Linked DNA regions of Homo sapiens: region 1 is linked to region 2. Evidence: promoter capture Hi-C in human tissues and cell types (Jung and others, 2019). All regions are on one chromosome and are shown on one strand. The core of a region is centred on a gene start or on the middle of the fragment in contact, and the rest is flanking DNA. Distances in the headings are between cores, read along the strand shown.

Region 1 (5,872 bases), core at 727-3,226, 42 kb after region 2:
GGTTATTGTCATACTATGACAATTCCTACTACACTGAACCACAGGGTAGAATTTGGGTCATTAGTGGACCAATAGCTACAACAGCATCTGGAGCTCTAGTATCCCTATTTCCCATCTCACTCACTAACTCATTACCAGAACTACCATCACGCTCAATCCTGAACAATAAGCAAGGCATGATAAGGTATCTTGATACATCTGTGCTGGATCAATAGGAGAAAAACTAGTAGGGTTAAAGATAATAAGAAGTGGTTCTTACTCTGTGTGTCTTAGGCATGATCCTGGTGGAAAAATTTATGAACCATTAATCTAAATGGCATTATGCTTTCAACTTTTGACATATAGAACGTGAGAGATTTCTGCTGCCTTCTAACTGGTATCCCTTCCTCCAATCTCTCTTTGTATGTCATCTATTCTCTACACTGCTGCTAGACTTACTCTTTTTAAAACTTAAATCAAATGGCTTCCCATTGCCTATTGGAAAAAGTCAGAATTCCTTGGCTTACCATTCAACAAAATTCACAATCTGGTTTCAACTCACCTTTGCAGATTCATTGTCCATATGTCTCTTCAAGTTCAACAAACATTTATCAAATGCCAGGCATTCTGTGTCGGTCAAAGACTGATAATGTGAGATCCTTGCCCTGAAGTGAGGAAGAGAAACAGAAGCAGAATATTTCAATATGAAACATGGTAAGTACTGTTCTAGAGGTATATGGACCTGGGGTACTGGAAGCACAAAGGAGGAGCTTCCTGGGTGAAATGACTACCTTTGTTCTAACAACATTATACTACTCAGTTTCTTGAGAATGCTGTACATTTCCACAATTGACACTTTCAGCTGTGAACTCTGCCAGAAATGCTCTGCCAACCTTGCACATCCCTGGCAGACTCATATTCATTTTTAAGTACAGCATAAGTCCCCACCGTCCGTCACTTCACCAGTGCATCTCCCTTTCTCTATTCTCACAGTGCTTTGCAAGTCTATGTCACAGCAGTTATCCTTGGATTTTAATTAGTACTTATCGCAATAGATTTTTTCTGCCCGTCTATTTCTTATGGCTGTGGTCTTGTTACAGGGCCAGGCACACAGAAATATCTGGCATTTGTTGAATGTTTACTATATGCCAGACTTCACCTTTTTTGTTTGTTTCTTTTTTGAGACAGGGTTTCACTCTGTAGCCCAGGCTGGAGTGCAGTGGTGCAGTCATGGTTCACTGCAGCCTCAACCTCCTGGGACCAAGCAATCCTCCCACCTCAGCCTCTGGAGTAGCTGGGACTACAGGCGCGCACCATCAAACCTGGATTTTTTCTTTTTTTTTTTTTTTTTTGGCGAGACAGGGTCTCGCCATGTTGCCCAGCCTCCTCTGGAACTCCTGGGCTCAAGCAATCCTCCCGCCTCAGCCTCCCAAAATGTTGGGATTACAGGCATGAGCCACCGGTCTGGCTGGCCTTTATTGTTTGATTCAATTCTTCCAACAACCCTATGAGGCTAATAATCTTATCCCCATTTTTCAGAGTGAGGGCTGAGGCCTAGTGTCTTGCCCAATGTCACAAATGGCGAGGTCAAAAATCGACAGTCTCCAGAGTCTGCTCTCTTAACCACTTAACTATTCTGCCTTAATAATTTCAGAAAAAAAATAAATGAATGAACGAAATAACAAAAAAGTCGCCCTCTTCCCTTACTTTACCGAAAGGAGCACGAAGAACAGGCACGGAGCCCAAGGAATGCCCAAGTCCCTCCAGGGGTTTCCTCGGTCACGGTCCGCCGGCGCAGGCGCCAATCACAGGGTCCTGAGGTCGCCTGACGTTCAGGGCAGCCGGAAGACGGGGAGGTCTGGACCTGAACCGAGACAAGGAGGTACCACACTATTCACTGCTGCGTCGCAGAGCGGGCTGGGCGGCTGTCTGGACCTCGAGAGGCCTGAGGCAAGGATCGCGTCAGACCCCGAAAGCTGGTTTGTTGATTAGTGATCTAAGACCGCCGGAAGCGCTTCTTCTCAATCAAGCTATGCAACAGGAAGTCATTACGATCCCGTTGTAACCTCTAAATATGTCCCCGTTCTGCACAGCATCCCGATAACCGTTTTGTTTTTCTCATATTATGACCTTCTCATGTTAGCACCACTTCGCAACGCTCCAGGTCGTGAAGGAGCAACTTCACCATCGCCGCCTACAGACGCCACTGGGAGCTTGGGAGAGTGGGACGTGGACAGGAACGTAAAGACCGAAGGGTGGGTTTCGAAGGAGCGGATTTCGAAGTTGCACCGGTTGAGGATGGCTGACATTCTCTCTCAGTCAGAGACCCTGGCGTCGCAAGACCTCAGTGGGGACTTCAAGAAGCCAGCTCTGCCGGTGTCCCCAGCGGCGCGGAGTAAGGCCCCGGCCAGCAGTTCTTCAAACCCTGAGGAGGTACAGAAGGAAGGGCCCACTGCGTTGCAGGACTCCAATTCTGGGGAGCCCGACATCCCTCCTCCTCAGCCGGACTGCGGTGATTTTAGGAGTCTACAGGAGGAGCAGTCGCGCCCCCCGACAGCGGTTTCTTCCCCTGGCGGTCCAGCCCGGGCTCCCCCCTACCAAGAGCCTCCATGGGGTGGCCCTGCCACAGCCCCCTACAGCTTAGAGACCCTGAAGGGCGGCACTATCCTTGGCACCCGTAGCTTGAAAGGGACGAGTTACTGCCTTTTCGGGAGGCTGTCTGGCTGCGACGTGTGCCTGGAGCACCCTTCGGTGTCTCGGTACCACGCAGTGCTGCAGCACAGGGCGTCCGGCCCTGACGGAGAATGCGACAGCAACGGGCCGGGCTTCTACCTCTACGATCTGGGAAGCACCCATGGCACTTTTCTCAACAAAACTCGCATCCCACCTCGCACCTACTGTCGAGTCCACGTTGGGCATGTTGTTCGCTTTGGAGGCAGCACCCGGCTCTTTATCCTGCAGGTAGGTAGAAAAACCTAGAATTGAAATTTCGGGTTCATTGGACTGCGTTCTTGTGCTTCTTAAGCTTTGGATGAGGAAGAAGAATCTCCCACTCAGCGATTACGAAAGTGAAGGAATCAAGTCTGGCCTATCATCTTCAGACGGCTGTACACATTGCTATATTTCTGAAAGTCATGTTCACAATCCCGAACTCTAAAATAACTTGTTTGGCCAGGCGCGGTGGCTCGCGCCTGTAATCCCAACACTTTGGGAGGCCCAGGCGGGAGGATCGCTTTAGCCCAGGAGTTTGAGAGGAGGCTGGGCAACATGGCAAGACCCTGTCTCTTAAAAAAAAAAAAAAAAATTAGCCAGGCATCATGGTCCCAGCTGCTCAGGAGGCTGAGGTGGGAGGATCACCTGAGCCCAGGAGGTCAAGGCTGCAGTGAGGTGTATTACAGCCACTGCACTCCAGTCCAGCCTAGGCGACAGAGCAAGACCCTGTCTCTAAATAAATAAATAACCTTTTTTTCCTTGGTTCATCAGGGACCAGAGGAAGACCGAGAGGCAGAATCCGAGTTAACAGTAACACAGTTGAAGGAATTGCGCAAGCAGCAGCAAATATTGTTGGAGAAGAAGATGCTAGGAGAAGACTCAGATGAAGAAGAGGAAATGGATACCTCTGAAAGGAAGATAAATGCTGGTAGCCAAGATGATGAGATGGGTTGCACCTGGGGAATGGGTAAGAAATTAAAATTGCTGCCGGAGGTTAATATTTTAAGTTCATTACAAGTGGTACCCTTAAATGTTTTTTTAAATCATACAGCTTTTCATGGCTCCTTGAGATAGATAGGGCAAACACAATTTGCACATGAGGTAACCAAAACCCAGAGAGATTCACTGACTTTACTGTTGTAAAGAAATTGACTTATAGGCACTTTGGATTTTTTAAAAATTTATTTTTAATGCACTCTCTTGTTCAAAACTTGTCCTAAGCATAAAATTATTATTTTTACAATTCTAAAATTTTATATTTATTAAGTACTGACCTTGTGCTATGTGATTATCATTGGAGGGGATGGAACTCTATTCAATCAAATAAATGGGATGTTATTCAATATAGGATATTCTCTTGAATTTTTTGTACTTTGTGAAGATATCCTGAAATGTGGAATATCTAATCAGATAAAGCTGGTCCCTTAGCCAAAATAATAAACTTTCTTTAACACCAGATATTTTAGAAAATGGATATTCAGGAGATGGGAGTATAAAAAGGTAGAAGATGGCATTAATATATAGTTGGGAAGATAGGAAAAATTATGAAATTACTTGTGCTAAGTGCCAAACAAAAGCTAGAAACCATAAGTATGCTAGAGTGAAAGTTTGGAGAAGAGAGAACAGTCACTGGGGACTTAGACCTGTGTTGTCTGATATGGTAGCCACTAGCCACATGTGGTTACTGAGCACTTGCAGTGTGGCTAGTTGCAATTGATGTGTGCTGTAAATGCAAAATACACACTGAATTTCAAAGACTTAGTCTGAAAAAAAGAATGTAAAATATCTCTTTCATGATATTTTTATATTGATGACATGTTGAAATGACAATAATTTTACCTGTTTCCTTTTAATTTTTTAATGTGGCTAATAGAAAATTTAAGATGACGCATACAGCTGTCATTATATTTCTGTTGGACAGCACTGACTTAGATCTTTGGGAAACTTAATTTTTTTTATTTTAGTAGAGATGGGGTTTCACCATATTGGCCAGGCTGGTCTTGAACTCCTGACCTTGTGATCCACCCCCCACCCCCCCCCCCCACCCCGCCCCCCGGCCTCCCAAAGTGTAGAGATTACAGGCGTGAGCGATCGCACTCCACAGGGAAGCTTTATGAGCATAAGGATTTTGAGCTGGAACTTGAAGGAAAGGAAAAGCCTTATGAAGCTGAGTATTGGGATTGGTATTCAGGGTAGGAATTGATGATTTTAAGGAAGTTGTGAGTAGACCAGTCTATTTGGCAGATATAAGAAGTATTAGGAAATTATATTGGGAACGAAAGTTAGATATGAGTGTGAGAGAACAAGAATGCCAGGCTGAGGAGCTCAAATTTTTTTTCCACAATGTGGTAGGTAATTTTACTTTTAAAATATAATGATGGAGAAAAAAAAATTAAGGTGCCATGAAAACAAGTTTTGACTTGTCACACAATTTAGAAAACCTGAATATGCTCATACTAGTGGTTTTGTGGTGGTTGTTCCACCCCCTGTCCCTGCAAGTATTTATTATTTTTCATCACAGATAAACTATATATATATATATATTTTTTTTTTTTTGGGAGACGGTCTCACTGTGTTGCTTGGGTTGGAGTGCAGGTAGCGCGATCTTGGCTCACTACAACTTCTTCCTCCCAGGTTCAAGCAATTCTCCTGCCTCAGCCTCCCAAGTAGCTGGGATTACAGACACCCGCCACTGTGCCCAGCTAATTTTTTTTGTATTTTTAGTAGAGATGGGGTTTCACCATGTTGGCCAAGCTGGTCTTGAACTCCTGACCTTGTGATCCACCTGCCTTGGCCTCCCAAAGTGCTGGGATTACAGGCATGAGCCACTGCGCCCAGCCTAAACTATATCTTTATGCAGCCTGAGAGAATAGTGGGTATCATTCAAATAGTCTCTTCTCATGTCTGATTATCTTTTCTTTCTTTTCCATATCCTGTAGGAGAAGATGCAGTAGAGGATGATGCTGAAGAGAACCCTATTGTCTTAGAGTTTCAGCAGGAAAGGGAGGCCTTTTATATAAAGGATCCCAAAAAGGCTCTCCAAGGCTTTTTTGACCGAGAAGGTATGTAAACAGATTCTGACCCTACCACTAAAACATATCCAGAGCAGTGTGGTTTTCTAGAGCTTCATGTTGAGCTTTATACTAAGATATGCTATAATTTTATTGCTGTCCTTCTTGTT
Region 2 (5,637 bases), core at 2,814-5,313:
TGCCTCTGGTGAATTTTGGGCATTTGATCATTTTGGGGGAGGAACCAAGACAACCTGGAAGTGAAGTGAAAGGAACATAGGAAGGTAGAAAGATGTGGCATATTACCTGAGAAAAAGTAGGAGACTTTCAGGTTGTGTTGAAGTAGGGTGGGTGATTGGAACAGAATTGCACTAGGATGGATTTATGTTGATAATCATCCATCCAAGCTGGTTTTCCTAAATCTATTACTATATTGGATCTTTTTCCTTCTTATCTTTGCTGAAGTAGAATTCCCTCTTTTCATCTCTAACAATCCCTACACATAGCCCAGTTATGTTGCTGAATTTACCAGTAATTCTTTTTTGTTTCTCTCTTGGAAATAGGGAAACTTTGTGGCTGGAAAATACAAATGTCTTCTATGTCAGAAAGAATTTGTGTCAGAGAGTGGTGTCAAGTATCACATCAACTCCGTCCATGCTGAGGTGAGGTTTTTGTAATCCTGTGGGCCTGATATGTAAGCCACAAGAGAGGTAGACTTTGTCCCTATTGTTATGGACTAAGGCTGTCAAGGAAAGTATCTCTAAAGTGGTTACCAGAGCCATTAGAGTTAAAATATTCTCTAAACTTAGATATATAATTGTATTTTTCTGTGAAAGTATTTGAAGTCACTGTGAGGGGTGGGCGGGGTGGCTTATGCCTCTAATCCCAGCACTTTGGGAGGCCAAGGCAGGAGGATCACTTGAACCCAGGAGTTTGAGGCTGCAGTGAGCTGGTTGCGCTACTGCACTCCAGCCTAGGCAACAGAGATCCTGACTCAAAAAAAAAAAAAAAATCACTGTGACTGTAAGCATCCTTGAACTCTTTTTTTTTTTTTTTTTAGACGGAGTCTCGCTCTGTTGCCCAATCTGGAGGGCTCACTGCAACCTCCACCTCTCGGGTTCAAGCAATACTCCCTGAGTAGCTGAGATTACAGGCACCTGCCACCATGCCTGGCTAATTTTTGTATTTTCAGTAGAGATGGGGTTTTGCCACGTTGGCCAGGCTGGTCTTGAACTCCTGACTTCAGGTGATTCACTCGCCTTGGCCTCCCAAAGTGCTAGGATTACAGGTGTGAGCCACCATGCCCGGCCTGAACTCTTCTAATTCCTTTAAATCCAATTAAGTCAAATGTTTGGGAACCAGATTGAGTTTACATGTTTGAAATTCTTATTTCACAGTGATCTCTATACATTCATGCCTTCTAGCATTCTAATGTCTTCCAGCAACCCATTTTTAACGCTGTTTAAAATACTGGATAAAACAACTAAAGGACATTATTGAGACAGTTGGGGAAATTTGAATGCTGACTGTATTAAATAATAGTATTGTGTCAGTGTTAACATTCCCAAAGGTGATAGTTGTAGTCATGCAGGAGAATGCCCTTGTTCTTAGGCAGATATATGCCAAAGTGTTTAGGGATGAAGTATTATGATGTCTGCAACTAATTTGCACATAGTTCAGCAAAAGAAAGAAGGAGGGAAGAAGGAAGAGAGGAAGGAAAGAAATTAACAGTGGTAAATTTGATTGTTCATTGAACTGTTGCAACTTTTCTGAAGGTTTGTAATTTTTCAAAATAAAATTTTAAAATTGTGTATAAAAATGCTTTAAAGTTCAGAAGGTCAAGGGTTTTCTCTTGGGGAAGGTTTTTTAGTAATACAGGTGAACAGAGAAATCGTTTATGATATAATTAAATAGTCCTACTACAACAGCTTAGGAATACAATTTGCATTCTCTTGGAATATCTCACTGCAGAAACTATTGCTGCCTGATGTGGAAAAATAAAGGGAACACCTTTATTTATTTTCTGCCCTCAAATTTGATAGTACTTAACAATGTGAGCTTTAATTACTTCCATAAAATTTGGTTTCTGTTGCTTTACTGGCATAAGCTTTCAGAATCCCTAACCAAAGCCTGAGATGTCTTCTGAAGGCAGTCATATCTTTTTAGTAATAATAGCATATCTTTTTTTGCTTTAGGAAGTATTTAAAAGGTAATTATCGGCTGGGCACGGTGGCTCACGCCTGTAATCCCAGCACTTTGGGAGGCCGAGGCGGGCAGATCACCTGAGGTCAGGAGTTCAAGACCAGCCTGGCCATCATGGTGAAACCCCATCTCTACTAAAAAGTTAGCTGGGTGTGGTGGCGGGCACCTGTAATCCCAGCTACTTGGGAGGCTGAGGCAGGAGATTTGCTTGAACCCAGGAGACGGAGGTTGCAGTGAGCCGAGATTGCGCCACTGCACTCCAGCCTGGGCAACAGAGCAAGACTCTGTTAAAAAAAAAAGGTAATTATCTCCTGACAAAATCTGGCCTTTATATAGTTAAATGGTTTGTCTATTTTCTTCCTAAAAAGTTAAAATCAAAAGAATTGGAACCAACAAATTTCACTTGGTTTGGGGCATGCTCCCAGGCATTTGTTTATTGATTTATGCCTCTATGAATTTTGTGGGTGGTAAAACATCTTTACCCTGTTTCTTCCTCCCTCCATCACATTTTCTTACACTACTTTTTTTTTTTTAACAGAAAATTTCAAACACATGAAAGTAGAGAAAATAGCATAATGAACCCAGTATGCTGTCAGCCATCCTCAGCAATCATCAGTGTATGGCCAATCTTGTGTCATTTATAACCTCACTTTTCTCCTCCCTTAAAGGCTTACTTTAAAGCAAATTCCACATAAAATTTCAGCTGTAAGTGCTTCTTTCAATATATATCTGTAAGAGATAAGGACTTTTGAAAACATATGACCACAAACATCATTATACCTAAAAAAGTTAAGAATTTTAATATTATCATATGTCTAGTTATTATTTAAATTTCCCTGATTATCTTATAATGTTTTTTCAGAGTTGATTTTTCAAATTAGGATCTAAAACAAGGTCTAAATATTGCATTTGTTTGTTTTAATCTAGAGCAGCACTATCCAAAAAAAGTACTGTGAGCCATGTATATAATTTAAAATTTTCTAGTAGCCACATTAAAAAAGTATTTTAAAAGATGAAATTAATGTTAATAATTATTAAGCCCAATATATCTAAAATTATTTTTAACATTAAATCAATAAATTATTGAGATATTTTACATTTTTTTCATAACAAGTCTTTGAGATTTGTTGTATATTTTACATGAAAGCATATCTTAATTTGTTCTACTCACATTTAAACACATCACTTACCATATGTGGCTAGTGGCTATCTCATTGCATGGTGCAAGACTAAAAGCTTCCTCTTCTTTTTTACAAATTTGCCATTTATTGAAGAAACCGGATCACTTGTCACATACATGTACCCACATTCTGGAATTTTGCTGATTGCACCCTATGATAGTATTCCTGTATTCTGGCCATTTCCTTTTTTGCTTTTTGTTGTTGTTGTTTGTTTTTGAGGTACAGGGACCACTGCAGTGGAGTCTTGCAGTGGGGCAGAGAGATTGGGCTCAACTCCCTATTCTGGCTTTTCCTATGAATTGGTAGATTTAGAAGATTGAACAGATCACTTGATAAGATTGAAGTTCTTTCTTTTTTGGCAAAAATACTTCATAATTGGATTTCATGTCCCCTACCCCTTAATTTTTTAAAGTGAGCCTCGAAAATGTTAAGTAATTCGCCCATGGTCACGTATCTAGAAACAGAGCTGGGATTTGCACCCAGGGGGTCTGGCTGCAAAATTTATGCTCTTAGTTACGATGCCGTCATGGAATAAAAATCTCCTATGGCTCAGTGTGTTACATCTCATGATGAGATTTATACTCAGGAGATATAAGAGTGGGATGATGCTAAGTAAACAGACTTTGTAGATCATTTATTAAAGTCCCTAGAATTACGCCTTACAAAATATGTGCTTGTAATAGCTGCTCTGTGTTGGATTTCTCCATCTTAAAATATAGAATCCTGAGGTATGGTTCCATATCTGTTTCCTTCTTACTGTGTTCTGCCCTAATCATGCCTTTTTTCCATTCTTCCTCCACCTTTCTTTATGTTCTTCACTATATTTTCGACTGGATGACATTTCTATTTTGCCTCTCTAGGACTGGTTCGTTGTAAACCCAACAACAACCAAAAGCTTTGAAAAGCTGATGAAGATAAAGCAGCGGCAGCAAGAAGAAGAAAAGCGGAGGCAGCAGCACAGGAGCAGAAGGTCTCTAAGAAGGCGGCAGCAGCCTGGCATTGAGCTTCCCGAGACAGAGCTGAGTCTTAGAGTAGGGAAGGATCAGAGGAGGAATAATGAGGAACTGGTAGTGTCAGCCTCCTGTAAGGAACCAGAGCAGGAGCCAGTGCCAGCACAGTTCCAGAAAGTAAAGCCCCCAAAGACTAATCATAAACGAGGAAGGAAATAGGCAGTCAGTGTAAAAGTGCTCCTAGGAAAGCAGATGTGATGCTGTTGTCACGGGGACCTGTGCTGGGAGGACTGAGTGAAGATTCTTTCAGCTGTTTGTGTAAGGCTGTGACTTTCTCAGCTCCTTCCTCCTGTGTAAATTTCACTGTCTTCCCTTCTTACATTTTGATTCCCCCCTCCCCTTTTAGTAGGTTTTCCTGCTATTCCTCGTCAAGTCCTCTTGTTTTTTTATCTTGCCCAAAGAGCTCCCTCTCAAGGCCAACTATAGGCTCCTCTTGCCCTGTACAAAACTAAGAAACCTCTTTGGTTGTCCTTTCCTTCCTGGGGTATAGAATGTTCTTGGAAGCTCCATTGATTTAGTAGCTGCTCCATCATCTAGCTTGTGAAACCATTCCAAACTAATTTTTTAAAACCATAACTGATTTGTCATTTTGTATTTGTGATATAACAAGTCTAGAAGTTAGAACTGTTGTCATTCACATAATAAGATTACTCTGTCTCCTTGGGAAAAAAACTTTATGGAGGCTGTTTGTCCTCTCAATATGGTTTTAAGATTGAAAGTAAGAAAACGGATTTAGGATGAAAACTCTAGAACTACCCTATGCTGTTTATACTGGGAAATGCTTTGTACCAAGTAGCAGTGACTAGACCCACAGACATGAAAAGCAACCTTAGGAGTAAAGTGACCCAAACATTAAAATGACAGGAAAGAGAAAGTAGAAGCAGCAATAAATACTGCCCCAACTTTCCTGGAGCCCGAGGCCTCATCCATAGCTATGATCACTTGCCCTCTGAAGCTTATTTTTGCTTCTTTGGTTTTAAGAATTGAGAAATATCACATTGCCCCTGATGTTTTGACAGTCTCCTAGTGCTCCTGGTAGTGCCACTAAGGGAAAACCAAGGTGCGCATTCCTTCTCCCTGGACTTTACCTTACTTGTTAGTCTACGCCCCACTGTTTCCACCCATCCCCTTAGCCAACCTCTGTCTTTTTGAATTTTCTGAGAATATTGTCCTATCCTCTTTTATATATGGAGTTCTCTCCTCTTTATATCCTGAGACTTTGACACCAGATGTAGATATTTATCTGGAGCTGGAAAGAAAAATTCTTTTTCTGTACCTCATGCCTATCTGGTAATGTTTAATGGGTTATTTCTCTTTGAGGGTGGCTTTCTCTGGAACATTGGTTAGAGCAGCTTTGTTGTCGTGTTTCTGGATTCTCTTCCCCATTTTGCGTAAATATTGGTCTTATATATTCTTGCCTATTTTGTGGCATATGCCACATAAA

The links. Contacts are between HindIII fragments. The study calls those that stand out against the background at their distance.
Region 1: a contact is called between the fragment with the promoter of SUPT7L here and a fragment that was not itself captured in region 2, in 2 of the 25 tissues and cell types used here (hippocampus and spleen).

Annotation. Positions count from the first base shown.
Region 1 is chr2:27,661,638-27,667,509 of GRCh38, forward strand. SUPT7L (SPT7 like, STAGA complex subunit gamma) reads right to left here and starts at 1,977. Exons shown (of 6, transcript NM_014860.3): 1 at 1,692-1,977; 2 at 542-644. The coding sequence starts at 555. It overlaps SLC4A1AP (solute carrier family 4 member 1 adaptor protein), which reads left to right and starts at 2,252. Exons shown (of 14, transcript NM_018158.3): 1 at 2,252-2,940; 2 at 3,463-3,658; 3 at 5,631-5,753. The coding sequence starts at 2,278. The HindIII fragment of the contact is 8,665 bases long and covers 1-3,902 here.
Region 2 is chr2:27,617,110-27,622,746 of GRCh38, forward strand. ZNF512 (zinc finger protein 512) reads left to right here. Exons shown (of 14, transcript NM_032434.4): 13 at 364-462; 14 at 4,044-5,637. The coding sequence ends at 4,352. Among named protein-coding and RNA genes, the nearest start is that of CCDC121, 9.1 kb to the right of the region's middle. The HindIII fragment of the contact is 6,428 bases long and covers 850-5,637 here.